3 separate regions of the Homo sapiens genome follow, and all the other regions are linked to region 2. Evidence: promoter capture Hi-C in human tissues and cell types (Jung and others, 2019). All regions are on one chromosome and are shown on one strand. The core of a region is centred on a gene start or on the middle of the fragment in contact, and the rest is flanking DNA. Distances in the headings are between cores, read along the strand shown. Region 1 has its middle 80 kb from the start of CYTIP. Region 2 holds the start of ERMN (ermin). Region 3 overlaps LOC105373712 (a long non-coding RNA gene).

Region 1 (4,599 bases), core at 325-2,824, 200 kb after region 2:
TTTGAGGGAAATAATCAAAGTGAAGGTCCTCATTTTGGTTGCACTAGCTTTGCACCTCCCAAGTAAACCATCAACACCTAGACCCTTCCTCAGACTCTCTTTCTAGAAAACTCCGATTAAGACAGGTACCTACATCAAGAATGAATTAGTGAAATAATATTCAAAAGAAGATCATGTTTAAACTGAGCCTGATGAGAAATAAAAGTGAATCATGTGAGTTAGACAGAGACAGGGAAATTCCAGAAAGATGAAAAAATAGTTACATGAAATCCTAGAATTGTAGATACACATGCAGTGTTTATAGCATTGCCAGTAGTTCTAGTTGACAGGTATATTAGAGAAAGAGGTGAGGGATTAGCTGAGGGAGGAGAAAAGGAAGGAAATTGAGTTGCTATGAAATTCTATTTTTGTTCGGAAATAAACAGACAGTTTCAAATTAAGATTTAAAAATATTTTAAAGAGGAAAATAAGGTGATTATACTTATAATTTAGAACAATCACTAGTAGTTATCTGAAAGAGAGTAAATTAATAGGAGTGGAAATGGAGACACAATATGAGAAAAGACCATGGCAGACACCAAAGTAACAACTGGTAGGGGCCTGAAGTGAGACAGTGGTATGGTGGCATACAGATGAAGAGGAAGGATAGATATATTTAGGAAGAAGGGACAATAGGACTGGGTTGTTGGGTTGAACAAGAGGGATCACAGGCAGGGAAACAGGTTTGTCACGAAAAAAATGACTTGATATCTGTCAAATATTTGTATCCAGAATCCGTAAAGTATACTTACAACTCAATAATAAGAAAACAAACGACCAGTAAAAAAGTGGGCAAAATATTTTGATGTACTCCAAATGCACAAAGTCAGTATTTGTAGGAAAAGAAGCTAAATATTATTAGTGATCACAGAAGTTCAATTTAAAATAACAATGAGATACTACTGCACTTCACCAGAAAAGCTACAGTGAAAAACTCTGGAGCAACTATTACTCTCATATACTGATAGCGAGTATAAAATGGTACATACACTTTACACCCCTAAGTATTTACCTAATTCTACTTGAAAGTATTTACACTCCAGCAATTATAGTGTTAGGTATTTACTCAAGAGAATTGAAAACACATATCCACAAAAACACTTAAACATCAATGTTCACAGCAGATTTATTCATAATAGCCCCAAACCGGAAACAACCCAAATGTTCAACAGGTGAATGCATAAACAAATTGTGGTATGTTAATAGAATACAACTGTACCCAGCAATGTAAAAGAACAAGCTGCTGATACATCTAACAACATGACTGAATGTCAAAAACAGTATGCTAAGCAAAAGAAGTGAGACACAAAAAATTACATTTTGACATTGGAATCAGAAGTGACTATGTTATAACCAGGTGGATACATAAAGAAGAGGCTGGACATTAGGGCCTGGATCTTAGAAGATAAGTCTGGGACAAATATGCAGATTTGAACATCACCAGCCTTATTAAAGACAAAAGAGTAGATGAGATCACCAAGGAGGAGTGTTTAGGACAGCCAAAGCTAGATACAGGTAAATATTAGCATTGTAGGGACACAAAGAAAGGAAAATACTGTCCAGGCACAGTGGCTCACACCTGTGATCCCAGCACTTTGGGAGGCCAAGGCGGGCGGGCGGATCGTTTGAGCCCAGGAGTTTGAGACCAGCATGGGCAACATGGTGAAACCTTGTCTCTGCAAGTAATAGAAAAATTAGCCAGGTTTACTGGCACAGGCCTGGTCCCAGCTACTGGGAAGGCTGAGGTAGGAGGATCACTTGAGCCTGGAAAGGTCGATGCTGCAATGGGCTGTGATCATGCCACTGCACGCCAGTTTGGGTAACAGAGTGAGACTCTGTCTCAAAAGAACAGAAAAAAAAAAAAAAAAGAAGAAGAAGAAGAAGATGAAGTGCAGAATGCAGAGAAAAAGAAGAGGTAGGGGGAGGACAATCAAGCAAAGGAAAATAATTATGGGAGAGGACAGTCTGTTGCAAAGGCCAGAGAGGGACAAAGGAAGAAAAGGGTAAATATCTTTGCACTAGACTACTACAAAATACTTAGCACAGAGGAGGCCATTTTACAGGAAGACTCAAAAGTTCCATTGTAGTGGGTCGAGGAGTGAATGGGCAGAGAGAAAATGGGGACAGAGAATGTACCCTACACTTAACAAAAGTTTGCTTTGGAAAGGAAAGAACTACAAAGTCTATGTCTTTGCGAATGTCATATTTCCACCCAAATGTAAATTTTTGGTTATTTCACAAATACCTCACAGTGACTAAATTCTCAGTAAGATGTTTATGGTATCACCCATGTATTTCTGATAAAGGAAAAGCTGACATAGAGAAAAGTGCATTTTATGAACTAGTTCACGTATTATATAAAAGTAAAGATCCAGATTGCAGTATAGAATTGAAATGTGGTTTGCAAATTCTTGCTTTTGCTCTATACAGAAATCCTAGGCTGTATTTCCCCTGTTCCGCTTCACTTATATCTTATATGATTGTCACCTTGTGTTTCTCCATTTAAAAATAAAAGGCAAACTCAGCAGTTCCTTTTTCTTAAACTGCTTCAGTAACCAGCAGTTGCCACATTAAAAGCTTTAGCTGCAGGACTATAAAAATAGTCTAATGCTCCCTAGCAAGTAGCTACATTTCAGCCAGTTCTCTTTTCAGGGATGTAGCAAGGTCAAATCTAATGGCCAGGGAAGGACAGGCTATGAGAGAGAAGGGAAAGCCAGTTGACATTCACAGAGCAAAAGTGCATTGTGCTTGGAATTTTTTGTGTAAATGTTAAACAGTGCCCACATTTAACCACCTGCTTGTTGTTTAGAAGGGTTCAAATGAACAATTTCAAGCACAATTGAATAACACTCAAAAGAAAATCAAGTGTAATTTCCTAAGTTGCTGAAGCAAGGATTCTTCTATGAAACACCATTAGTATTTCTAAACCTGATTTGATTATATTTGAAATTTAATGCATACAGTTCAGTGGCACCTCGAGATTTATTTGTGCAAAGATGGAATTACAAGGTAGACCTTTATAAATGATTGTTTCTTTCTGTGTATGTATTTTTAAAATTCTTCATGTCATAATTGTAATAAAACTAAATGATTAAAGATTAAATGTCATTTATTTTTTGGCTTCCTTATGACAATATTTTGCTTTGCATTTAAGATATATTAAAAAGTAGGGAAAATACACCACATAAAATCACTCACATCACACTGCTTGTATAGCTCATCTTGAAATTCTTCACCTGTGTACTATCTCTAAATATTTATCAGTTAGGAAAGAAAGGGTATGTTGTAATCTTCAGGTTACTTTGATAAATCTCTTAAGAGGGTAATTCTTTTACTGCCTTTATTAAATGCCAACTTCACATGATCGCTGATGCTTTAAAACCTTCAGCGTTTCCCTCAATGACAGGATCAAGTTTAAATGCTGTAATCTAATCCTTACAGAATCCCTCAATCCCAGTTCTGTAGGTTACTCACTGCCATGAGCATCAGCCCCTGTTTTAGACACGATTCCAACCAGGGACAACCTCTTCCTTGTATTCTACTTAAACAAATCTCTCCCATCCCACAAGCTTCAACACGTCAATTTTCTTGCAGCAATGTTTGATAAAGATTTCTTAACTAATATTTGAAGGAAAAAGAATATTAACCTCTTTTAAATATAAAAGTGATTGTAATTACAAGTTTGTTACATACATCATTAACAAGACACAAACAAAAAAAAACTTAAAGCACTCTGTGGGAAAATGTTTCTAATAAATAGATTTTAAAGAAACTATTCAAATCAATGTTTTAATAACTCTCTGCCAAAATATGTATATTTCTTCTAAAAGTCACAGAGCATTTCTTGAAAATCACTTCCAGAACACTCCATAAAACAGCCTGGATTCAGTAATCCCCTAATCTCCAGGAATTTATCCTGATGCAAAAAAGTACCTATCCAATTTTATGTTCACACTGTAGGTAAACTATTGCATCAATGTGAACATTTGCCAAAGTTTGCACATATTAGTGTTTTAAAATTAAGATGCTGAAATTGCAGAATTACAACTGAAGGAAGAAAACACTATTGCTCATGCCACTGAAACTAAAGCATTCATTTTATTTCATGCATAGGTTTCACAATCTACACTGATATTTAATAAATATTTTGCCTTTATCCGCAACTCCAAGCAGCCACTAATAATGAAGCAGTTGAGAACCTGACTTAATGATTGTTAACCAAGAATATTTGGCTAGTGAAGCTGGTTAATACTGACTTAATGCAAAATATTCAGGACACTTATTAATAAACAAACAAAACTGCCCCCAAAATGGAAAAAAAAAAACATAAGCAAAAGAAGTTAAGAATCTATACCAAAAGTAAAACCAATTCAGTGTTCTGCCTCTCTTATGCTAAGTCTCAGAAAACACCAACTTTGTAGGGTTCAGAATGTAAACCAAACACCTAATCTTCTCATAATGTCATTCTGAAACAGCCATCATGAATTAGAAATTAACCTGAACTATTCTTGACTGGGTAAGAAACACAATCCTAACGTTTATTGCAGATATTGGGGTGTG
Region 2 (4,411 bases), core at 1,176-3,675:
GCTTGACACTGTCTATTGCTTGCTACATATTTCCTTAAGTGTTGCTACACTGCTAAGCAGACATAGTATGAGAGGTGTTCAGGCAAAGGGAGCAGATGTAGGAAATAGCCAATCACATTCCTGTCCTCCTTGACATCTACTATTTTATGTGATGTTCTAATATTTCAACCAATAGTCTCTTCAATATTTTGCCTGTTAAAGTCCTAACAAAGCTAAATTGGTTAGGTTTAGCAAGCTGACTTCAATTTGACATAAGATGTGTATGGCTGCAAGAGAGGAAAGAAATGATTAATTAATAGATTTTATCCTACACTTTATTTGGGAACTGTTTAAATGTAGGTGTCTTAGAAAAATCTAAAGGATTTTGTGTCTCTTAGTCTATTAAGTTTATTTAAAATTTAACATAATCACTTCAATGTTCTTTTTATTCTTCCATTTTCTTAAAGAACACAATTAAAATTAACTTTATCACCCTGTCTTTCTTTGACATGAAATAGTTAACAATTTTGTATTTACATTAGAGGCCTATAAAGTAAATCATTTCGTGAGATTACTTTAAACTGTATGTTGGCCGGGCACAGTGGCTCACGCCTGTAACCCCAGCACTTTGGGAGGCCAAGGCAGGTGGATCAACTGAGGTCAGGAGTTCAAGACCAGCCTGGCCAACATGGTGAAACTCCGTCTCTACTAAAAATACACACACACACACACACACACACACAAAATAGCTGGGCGTGGTGTCAGGTGCCTGTAATCCCAGTTACTCAGGAAGCTGAGGCAGGAGAATCGCTTGAACCCTGGAGACAGAGGTTGCAGTCTGCCGAGATTGCACCATTGCACTCCAGCCTGGGCAACAAGAGTGACACTCCGTCTCAAAAAAAAAAAAAAAAGCTGTATGTTAATTGTAGACTTTTAGGAAAGACCCGTTTTTGAAACATTTACCTTTCACAAGGTGCACACACAGATTTGGACACACCAAATCAAAAAGTAGGGTTGACTCAGTGGACTAACTTAAGAGATAGACATCACGTTGGTATGCCAATCAGCTATGCCATTCCATGCAGCCTCAGCCTTGAACAGTCTGGAATGCTTTATAAGGTGGAACCCACAGATAAGTTAAGACTCTCTTATCTGCCTACAGCAGCTTTGAAAATTTGAAGTCATTGCCTGGATTGCTTTGTCAACCCCACGCTCATGCAACATTTCATGGAAAGACTGTCATCCATACTCAGTCAAACAATTTCTGTGTACAAAACTGTAGTTCTTGTTACCTTCTCTGAATGTCATTTCATCAGCACTAGTTTCTTGGAGAGAAAGATCTGTGATAGCCTTATGAACAATAAAGAGTTTCTCTTCTGGGTTTTCTAGGAAAAAAATATAAAATCAGTATTTTAACATTTAAAATATTTATTGTTCAACAGTTAATAAGTTATCAATTTAAACTCTAGGTAGAAGTCTTTAATTTTAAATCTGATCATTAAAATTTACTATTTCACTCTTTGGATTCATTCTTTATCAATTCAATTTATTTACTTAATGATCACTTTATTGATTGTAATCTCTCCTTTAATATTTATATAAGATATATATATAAGATATAGAACCATAAATTCAGAGAACTTCAGTTATATTTAGAAGGAAATTTTAACATTTTGAATTCTCTTTGTTCAAATAATATGGGGCTGTCCATAATCATAATAAATACAGTAGTTAACATTTAGCCAATACTTACCCTAGACTTGTAGTTATTATTATTATTCCGCCTTCTTCTAGTGAAAAAAACTCAGGCTTCGGGAGACAGAAAGTTGTCTGGGGTCACAGCTGTCAAATAGACCAGCCTGGATTTCACCAGAGGCAGAGGTTTAGTCCTTATACTATGCGTAGTAGAATAAAGGGCTACATTTTTGGGGTGTCCAGCTCATTTCGATAATAGTTTATCAAAAAAATCCAGGGTAAATTTATAAGTCAAAACAAGAAAATTAAGGAGAAGGGAAACACTTTACCTTTTAGCATTTTGTCCTCCATGGATGAGTTGAGCAGCATGTTCCCTTGTAATTTTCTTCTTTCCTCCTGACTTCCTTTGGTGAGTGCACCTTCCAGACTGGGTTCTACCCTGTAGTGTGGCAGGGGGCTGTCCACATCAGTCAATTCCTCACTGATTTTAGTGATTGTTTGTTGACCGTTTTCAGGTGGTTTATCCCCATTACACTCAGCCTGGGTAAATGTAGCCGGAACATCTGTCATGATGTGCGGTTGAATCCGATCTGGAGAGAGAGCTTTAGGGAAACTGAGTGAGTAGATCCTTGATAAGATACCTGCTCTTGCCTTCAAGTCCTATAGTTCCAACTCCTACTCTAAGAGCACAAATTATTCACTTTAGTACATAATAACAAGGTTCTTTTCCTAAAAGTATCCAGACAGAGATTAGAGCAAAAGCAAGAGGATTTGTCAGATCTGCCAGGAGCCATGAGCAAGAATCCAGCCAATCACCACCTTCTTTGTTGCTTGCCAGTTCCCTGGCAGAGTTAAAGGCATCCTTTTGATTTACATAAACAAACAATCTGAAGCAATCAGGCTTTTGTGTTGGCATGTAGAGAGGGACTTTCAGCTTGTCAGTCCCCCTCTGGGAACAGAGATTTTTGTCCCTTTTCATAATGGCCCATTGTAATTTTCCCTGTAACAGGAGCCACAATTGTCCCACAGCTTTAATCCAGAGAGAATGACCACCTTGAGGCATATTAGTTCTGTGTAACCAGCTTAACATTTCCAAACAGATTTTGTTCAAGTAAAACCTCAGCTATTTTGTAAAGGACAATGGCATTGTTTCTTATTTATTAAAAAATAAAACAGCTTATGGAAAAAACCTATAAACAGGACAACTTTACTGTAAATGGTTCTGGCTGCAGATTTGATGGTGTGCTTCCAGCAGGCTGGAGAAGGGACCTATGAAATAAACAAATTCTACCAACTTGCTAATACCAAAAGTTTTATAATTTCAGAGTAATTTACTTAGTCTATAGCTTCTTATCCTCTAGTTTATGTCTGCTGAAGCCCAGCCGATCCTTTAAAACCCTAATAAAATTATCGCCATGAAGGTTTCTCCTCCCCCAATCAGAATTACAATCCTTTCTATTCCATACTGATATTACACAATGCTGGTAAAATGTAGAGGACCAATGCAATCTGCCCTTGGGAGAAACAGGTGATTATGTTAAATGACTGCTACTGACCACCCCTTCCTTTTTAAATCTTTTTCTTTTTTGGATTTCTCATAGTACAAAATGGTTCCAGAGCCTTTGCCCACACAGCTCCTTCTATGTGAAATGCCCTTCTCTTCCTCAAGCCCAAGCCCTGGGCTGACCAGCTTCCCTAAGTTCTGTTTTTAAGCTTAAATATCATCTCCTTAACTACACTATCTCTAACCGCCAGGATTAGGACAGGACTCTGTTACACATTGTCTTTGCCCTTCAGAGTATTCTTCATGGTTGTAACTAAATAAGCAACTGCACAATTATCTCTGTAATGTCTGTTTCACCAACTGCAAACTAAGTTTCATCTGGCGAGGGGCCAGTTTAACTTGCTTACATGTGTCCCCAGCACTTAGCATCTGGCTTGGAATAGTAGCACGCAATAAAAATAATTATATATATACACATATATACACAAATAATTATATATATACACATACATAACAAGAATTATATTATATATATAATATATACAATAAATTTTATCCCCAAGAGAATAAATTTCAGATCATTTTTAAAGAGAAGAAGAATAGGTGTTGAAGAGTTGTAGTAAGCATATCACCTTTAAAAGTGTGTCTAGGGCTGAGCCCATTCAGGTCTATATCAGGGACAACACCTCACTCTTGTATAATCCCCTCTCCCTTGTCCTTGGAAGACATCTCTAATAGATCCTAGATCTCCCTCCCGCGTCATCACCAGCTGTTCTCTAGTCAGCACTCTAATTCTATGTTTGTTTGATTGTTTAACTGTTTTAACAAACGCTCATATCACACTTATTATGTGCAAGCTACTGTCCTAATTGACTCATAAATAGTAATACACTTACTCTTCATAACAGTCTTCTGAGGTAGGTGCTGTTGTTATCTCCATTTTATAGACTAGAAAAATGAAGTGCAGAGAGATTAAGGAGTTCAGCTAGTAAGGTCACAGAGCCAGCAAGCCTACTGATGAGAGTTTGCAGCACAGATGAAGCTAAGCGCCATCCCTGGCCTGTGTGCAGATGTTTCCTTGGACCAGAGATCCCACAGGGGTTCGGCATTAGCACCTTGGCAGTAGAGACAGTTGTGGCCAGGAGAGGGCAGCAGAGAGCCTAAGGCAGTCTCAAGACCTGCCCCAGAGACACCCTGCAGCTGCTGAGGATGATGTTCTGGGAGCGTCCTCCC
Region 3 (4,622 bases), core at 97-2,596, 150 kb after region 2:
TCAGCATTAGGCACCAGAGTGAGACATTTGTTACAGCCCCTCTATGACTCATTTTCCTTACCTGTGAAATGGGCATACCAATATTACTTCCTTCATGATACTGATATGAAGATATTTAATGAACCTATATAGCCAATCATTTTTACCCAAATACAAGCAATCACTTTTACCCAAATGTAACCCATGTTTACATTAGGTTCACTCATGGTGTTGTATATTCTATGGGTTTTGACAAATGTATAATGATACATCCAGCATTGTGATATCATACAGAATAGTTTCATTGCCCTAAGTATCCTGTGTGCTCCCCCCTTTTTTTTTTTTTTTTTTTTTTTTTTGAGATGGAGTCTTGCTCTGTCGCCCGAACTGGAGTGCAGTGGCACGATCTGGGCTCACTGCAAGCTCCACCTCCTGGGTTCACGCCATTCTTCTGCCTCAGCCTCCCAGACTACAGGAGCCCACCACCACGCCTGGCTAATTTTTTGTATTTTTAGTAGAGATGTGGTTTCACCATGTTAGCCAGAATGGTCTCGATCTCCTGACCTCGTGATCTGCCCGCGTCGGCCTCCCAAAGTGCTGGGACTACAGGAGTGAGCCACCACGCCCGGCCTTGTGCTCCACTTATTTATTGCTTCCTCCCACCTAATCCCTGATCTTTTTACTGTCTCTACAGTTTGTTTTCACCAGAATGTCGTATAATGGGAATCAAACAGTATGTAACATTTCCACGTTGGCTTTTCTCACTTACTAATATACATTTAAAGTTCTTCCATGTCTTTTCGTGACTTGATAGCTCATTTCTTTTTAATATTGAATAATATTCCATCATATAAATGTACCACAGTCTCTTTATCTGTTTACCTATTGAAGGACGTCTTAGTTGCTTCTAAGTTTTGGCAATTATGAAAAAAGCTGCTATAAACATCCATGTATAGGTTTTTGTGTGGGCTTAAATTTTCAACTTATTCGGGAGAATACCAAGCAGACCAATTCCTGGATTCTATGGTATGAGTATGTTTAGTTTTACATTAAACTGCAAAGCTGTCTTCCAAAGCGGCTGTACCATTTTGCATTTCCACCAACAATGAATGAGGGTTCCTGTTGCTCTACATTCTCATCAGCATTTGGTGTTGTCAGTGTTTTGGATTTTTGCCACTCCCATAGGCCTATAGTAGTATCCTGTCACTTTAATTTACATTTCCTGGTAGGTAGATCAAGAATAGAAGACTCTACCAATCGCTCCCCTCCCAAACCCCAAGGACTCCAATTTAACAACTATCTACCCACAAAAAAACCATCTTCATAAGAACCCATAATCAGGTGAGCACTCGTAGTACTTGGTTTTAACTTTGTATTGCTGAAAGGGGCACTGAAAAAGTAGAAAAAAAGACATAACCCTTCCCCTCCACCTCCCCACCCCAGCAGCAGTGGTATGGTACAGAAAGCTTCTCCATGAACTGGGGGAGGGAGAGTGCAGCAATTGTGAGGCATTAAACTCAGTGCTGTTGTTATAACAGAAAGGAAAACCAGTCCAAACTTAGCTGATCACCCACCCAAGGAAGGAGCATCAGCTAAGTTCTCATCAATCCCAGTGGTAAGAACTTGAGTTCCCACAAGCCTCACCACCATGGTCTAAAGTGCTCTGGGGCTCTAAATAAACTCGAAAGGCATTCTAGGTCACAAGGACTACAATTCCTCGGTGAGTCCTAGGGCTAAACTGGGCTCAGAGACAGTTGACTGGAGGGACATGTGACCTACTGAGACACTGCAGCACCTAAGGCAGGGCTGCTATTAACACTTCCCTAACGCCAGGCTGCATAGCTCACAGCTCCACAAGAGACCTTTTCCTTCCACTTGAGGAGAGGAGAGGAAAGAGTGAGGATGAATTTGTCTTGCATCTTAGATACCAGCTCAGCCACAGCGGGATAGGACACCAATTGGAGTCATGAGGCCCCCTTCGCAGGCCCTAGATCCTAGATGACATTTCCAGACATACCCTGGGCCAGAAGGGAACCCATTGCTTTGAAAGAAAGGACGCTTTCCTGGCAGCATTCATCACCTGCTAAGTGAAGAGCCCTTAGGTCCTGAATAACCAGCAGCAATATGCAGGTACTACATTGAGGGTCTTGGGGGAGACTCTGAAACTTGCTGGCTTTGGGTGACTCAGCACATTCCCAGCCATGATGGCTATGGGTGAGACTTCTTCTGCTTGAAAAAAGTGAAAGGAAAAGCAAAGGGGACTTTGTCATGCACCTTGGCCACAGGGTTGTAAAGCACAAAGCAGGCCTCTTGGGGTCCTCAATTCCAGGACTTGGCTCTTGGATGGCATTTCTGGACCTGCCCTGGGCCTGAAGGGAGCACGCTGCCCTAAAGGGTGAGTCCCAACCCAGGCAGCATTCACCACAAGCTGACTGAAGAGACTTTGTACCTTAAGGGAACATTGGTGGTAGTCTGGTAGTACTCCCTGTAGGCCTGTGGTGACGGTGGCCAAGAGGTGAGGCTCCTCTGCCTTTGAAAAGGTGAGAGAAGAGTGAGATGGACTGTATCTTGTAGTTTGAATGCCAGCTCAGCTGCAGTATAATAGACTTCTAAGGGTTTTGACTCTAATCCCTGGCTGCTGGGTGGCACCTCTGGGCCTTCCTGGAGCCTGGGGGAACTTGCTGCCCTGAAGGAAAGGACACGGGCCTGGCTGTCTTTGCCACTTGCTGATTGCAGAGAACATAGGCAGTAGCCAGGGAGTGGTTGCAACAGGCCTTGGGTGAAATCCAGTACTGTGCTGGCTTCAGGTCTGACTGAGAACAGTCATAGTGGTGATTGCCACAAGGGAGCTTGTATCACTCCACCCCCAGCTTTGGGTGGCTCAGAATAGAAAGAGAGGCTCCATTTGTTTAAGAGAAACTAAGGGAAGAGAAAAAGAGTCCCTGTCTGATAATACAAAAAATTTTCCCAGATCTTGTCTAAGACCATCAAGGCAGTACCTCTACAAGTATGCAATAACCACAGTGTTACTGAGCTTGAGGTACCTCTTGAAGCAGATACAGCTTAGATCACAACATCCAAGTCCTATCAAATATCTGGAAAGCCTTCCCAAGAAGGACCAGTACAAACACCAGACTGCAAAGACTACGATAAATACCCAGACACAGATGAATATCTACAAATATTGAGACGACCCAGGAAAACATGACCTCATTAAATGAACCTAATAAGGCACCAGGGACCAGTCTTGGAGAAACAGAGATATGTGACCTTTCAGACAGAAAATTTAAAATAGCTATTTTGAGGAAACTCAAAGAAATTCAAGAGAACACAGAAAAGGAATTCAGAATTCTATCAGATAAATTTAACAAAGAGGTTGAAATAATTTAAAAGAATCAAACAGAAAATCCGGAACTGAAAAATGCAATTGGCATACAAAAAATGCATCAGTCTTTTAATAACAGAATTGGCCAAGCAGAAGAAAGAATTAGTGAACTTGAAGACATGCTGTTTGTAAATACACAGTGAAAGGAGACAAAAGAAAAAAGAATGAAAAACAATGAAGCATGCCTACAAGATCTAGAAAATAGCCTTAAAAGGGCAAATCTAAGAGTTACTGGCCTTAAAGAGGAGGTAGAGAAAGACAGAGGTAGAAAATTCATTCAAAGGGATAACAGAGAATTTCCCAAACCTAGAGGAAGATATGAATATCCAAATCCAAAAAAGATTATAGAACACCAAGCAGATTTAACCCAAAGAAGACTACCTTAGGCATTTAATAATTTGCATTTCCTAATGAGATATGATGTTGTGTATCTTTTCATATGCTTATTTGCCATCTTTCGTTCTTCTTTGGTGAAGTGTGTTCAAATCTTTTGCGCGCTTATTAATCAGGTTGTTTGTGTTCTTATTGTTGAGTTTTACAATTTCTGTGCATATTGTGGATAACAGTCCTTTATCAGATGCATCTTTTGTAATTATTGTATCCCTGTCTGTGACTTGCCTTTTCATTCTCTTGACAGCTTCTGTTGCAGATGAGAAGTTTTCAATTTTATATCAATTTTTGTTCCCCAAAGTGCACAAATGTAACAGGCTACTGAGTACAAGTTTTTCTGTTATCCCAAAATTGGCAGTTAAGGCCACAATATTAAAATAGAGAAGTTGGAGAACTGAGAACAACTGGAGCTAACCACCTTCTTTAAGGCTTACGAAGACACAACCAGGTAAAGGCTCTGCTGCTCTAAATCATCACCCCAAACTGGACCTTCTCCCTCTCCAGTCAAGTCTGAAAGGAAGACTGAGGTGGGAACAGAGAAGAAGGAAATGATTAGAGGTGTAAGGTGGCCTTGGTAGGGGTGGGAAGGGAGTAATACTTCAGTTTTCTATCTATTCCACCAAGACATGCCTCTCACCACTGAACCAACTTCGGGGCTGCCATGAGAACCACTCTTAAAGCCTGGAAGGAGTGCCTATAGGAAGAGAAGGCCAGAATTACATTTCTAGCTTTGACATCTGCACCTGCAGTGGCCTTGCCAATCAAGCCACTGTACCTACCTGAACTGAGGGGAAAAAAAAGTGACTTAGAAAAGGGAGAGAGCACAGCTCTGGGGCAACCCACATGTGTATCTCCATAGGCCATGTGA

What was found. The method cuts DNA at HindIII sites, captures the fragments that hold promoters and counts their contacts. A contact is called where the count stands out against the background at its distance.
Region 1: a contact is called between a fragment that was not itself captured here and the fragment with the promoter of ERMN in region 2, in 2 of the 25 tissues and cell types used here (lymphoblastoid cells and spleen).
Region 3: a contact is called between a fragment that was not itself captured here and the fragment with the promoter of ERMN in region 2, in 1 of the 25 tissues and cell types used here (spleen).

Annotation. Positions count from the first base shown.
Region 1 is chr2:157,521,342-157,525,940 of GRCh38, forward strand. No RefSeq gene overlaps it. Among named protein-coding and RNA genes, the nearest start is that of CYTIP, 80 kb to the left of the region's middle. The HindIII fragment of the contact is 3,076 bases long and covers 37-3,112 here.
Region 2 is chr2:157,323,399-157,327,809 of GRCh38, forward strand. ERMN (ermin) reads right to left here and starts at 2,426. Exons shown (of 3, transcript NM_020711.3): 1 at 2,004-2,426; 2 at 1,272-1,364. The coding sequence starts at 2,244. RefSeq lists an enhancer at 2,310-2,859. The HindIII fragment of the contact is 5,881 bases long and covers 535-4,411 here.
Region 3 is chr2:157,478,099-157,482,720 of GRCh38, forward strand. The region is part of intron 3 of LOC105373712 (a long non-coding RNA gene); the gene reads right to left. Among named protein-coding and RNA genes, the nearest start is that of CYTIP, 36 kb to the left of the region's middle. RefSeq lists enhancers at 2,347-2,476, 2,617-2,666 and a silencer at 2,827-2,886. The HindIII fragment of the contact is 3,799 bases long and covers 1-3,246 here.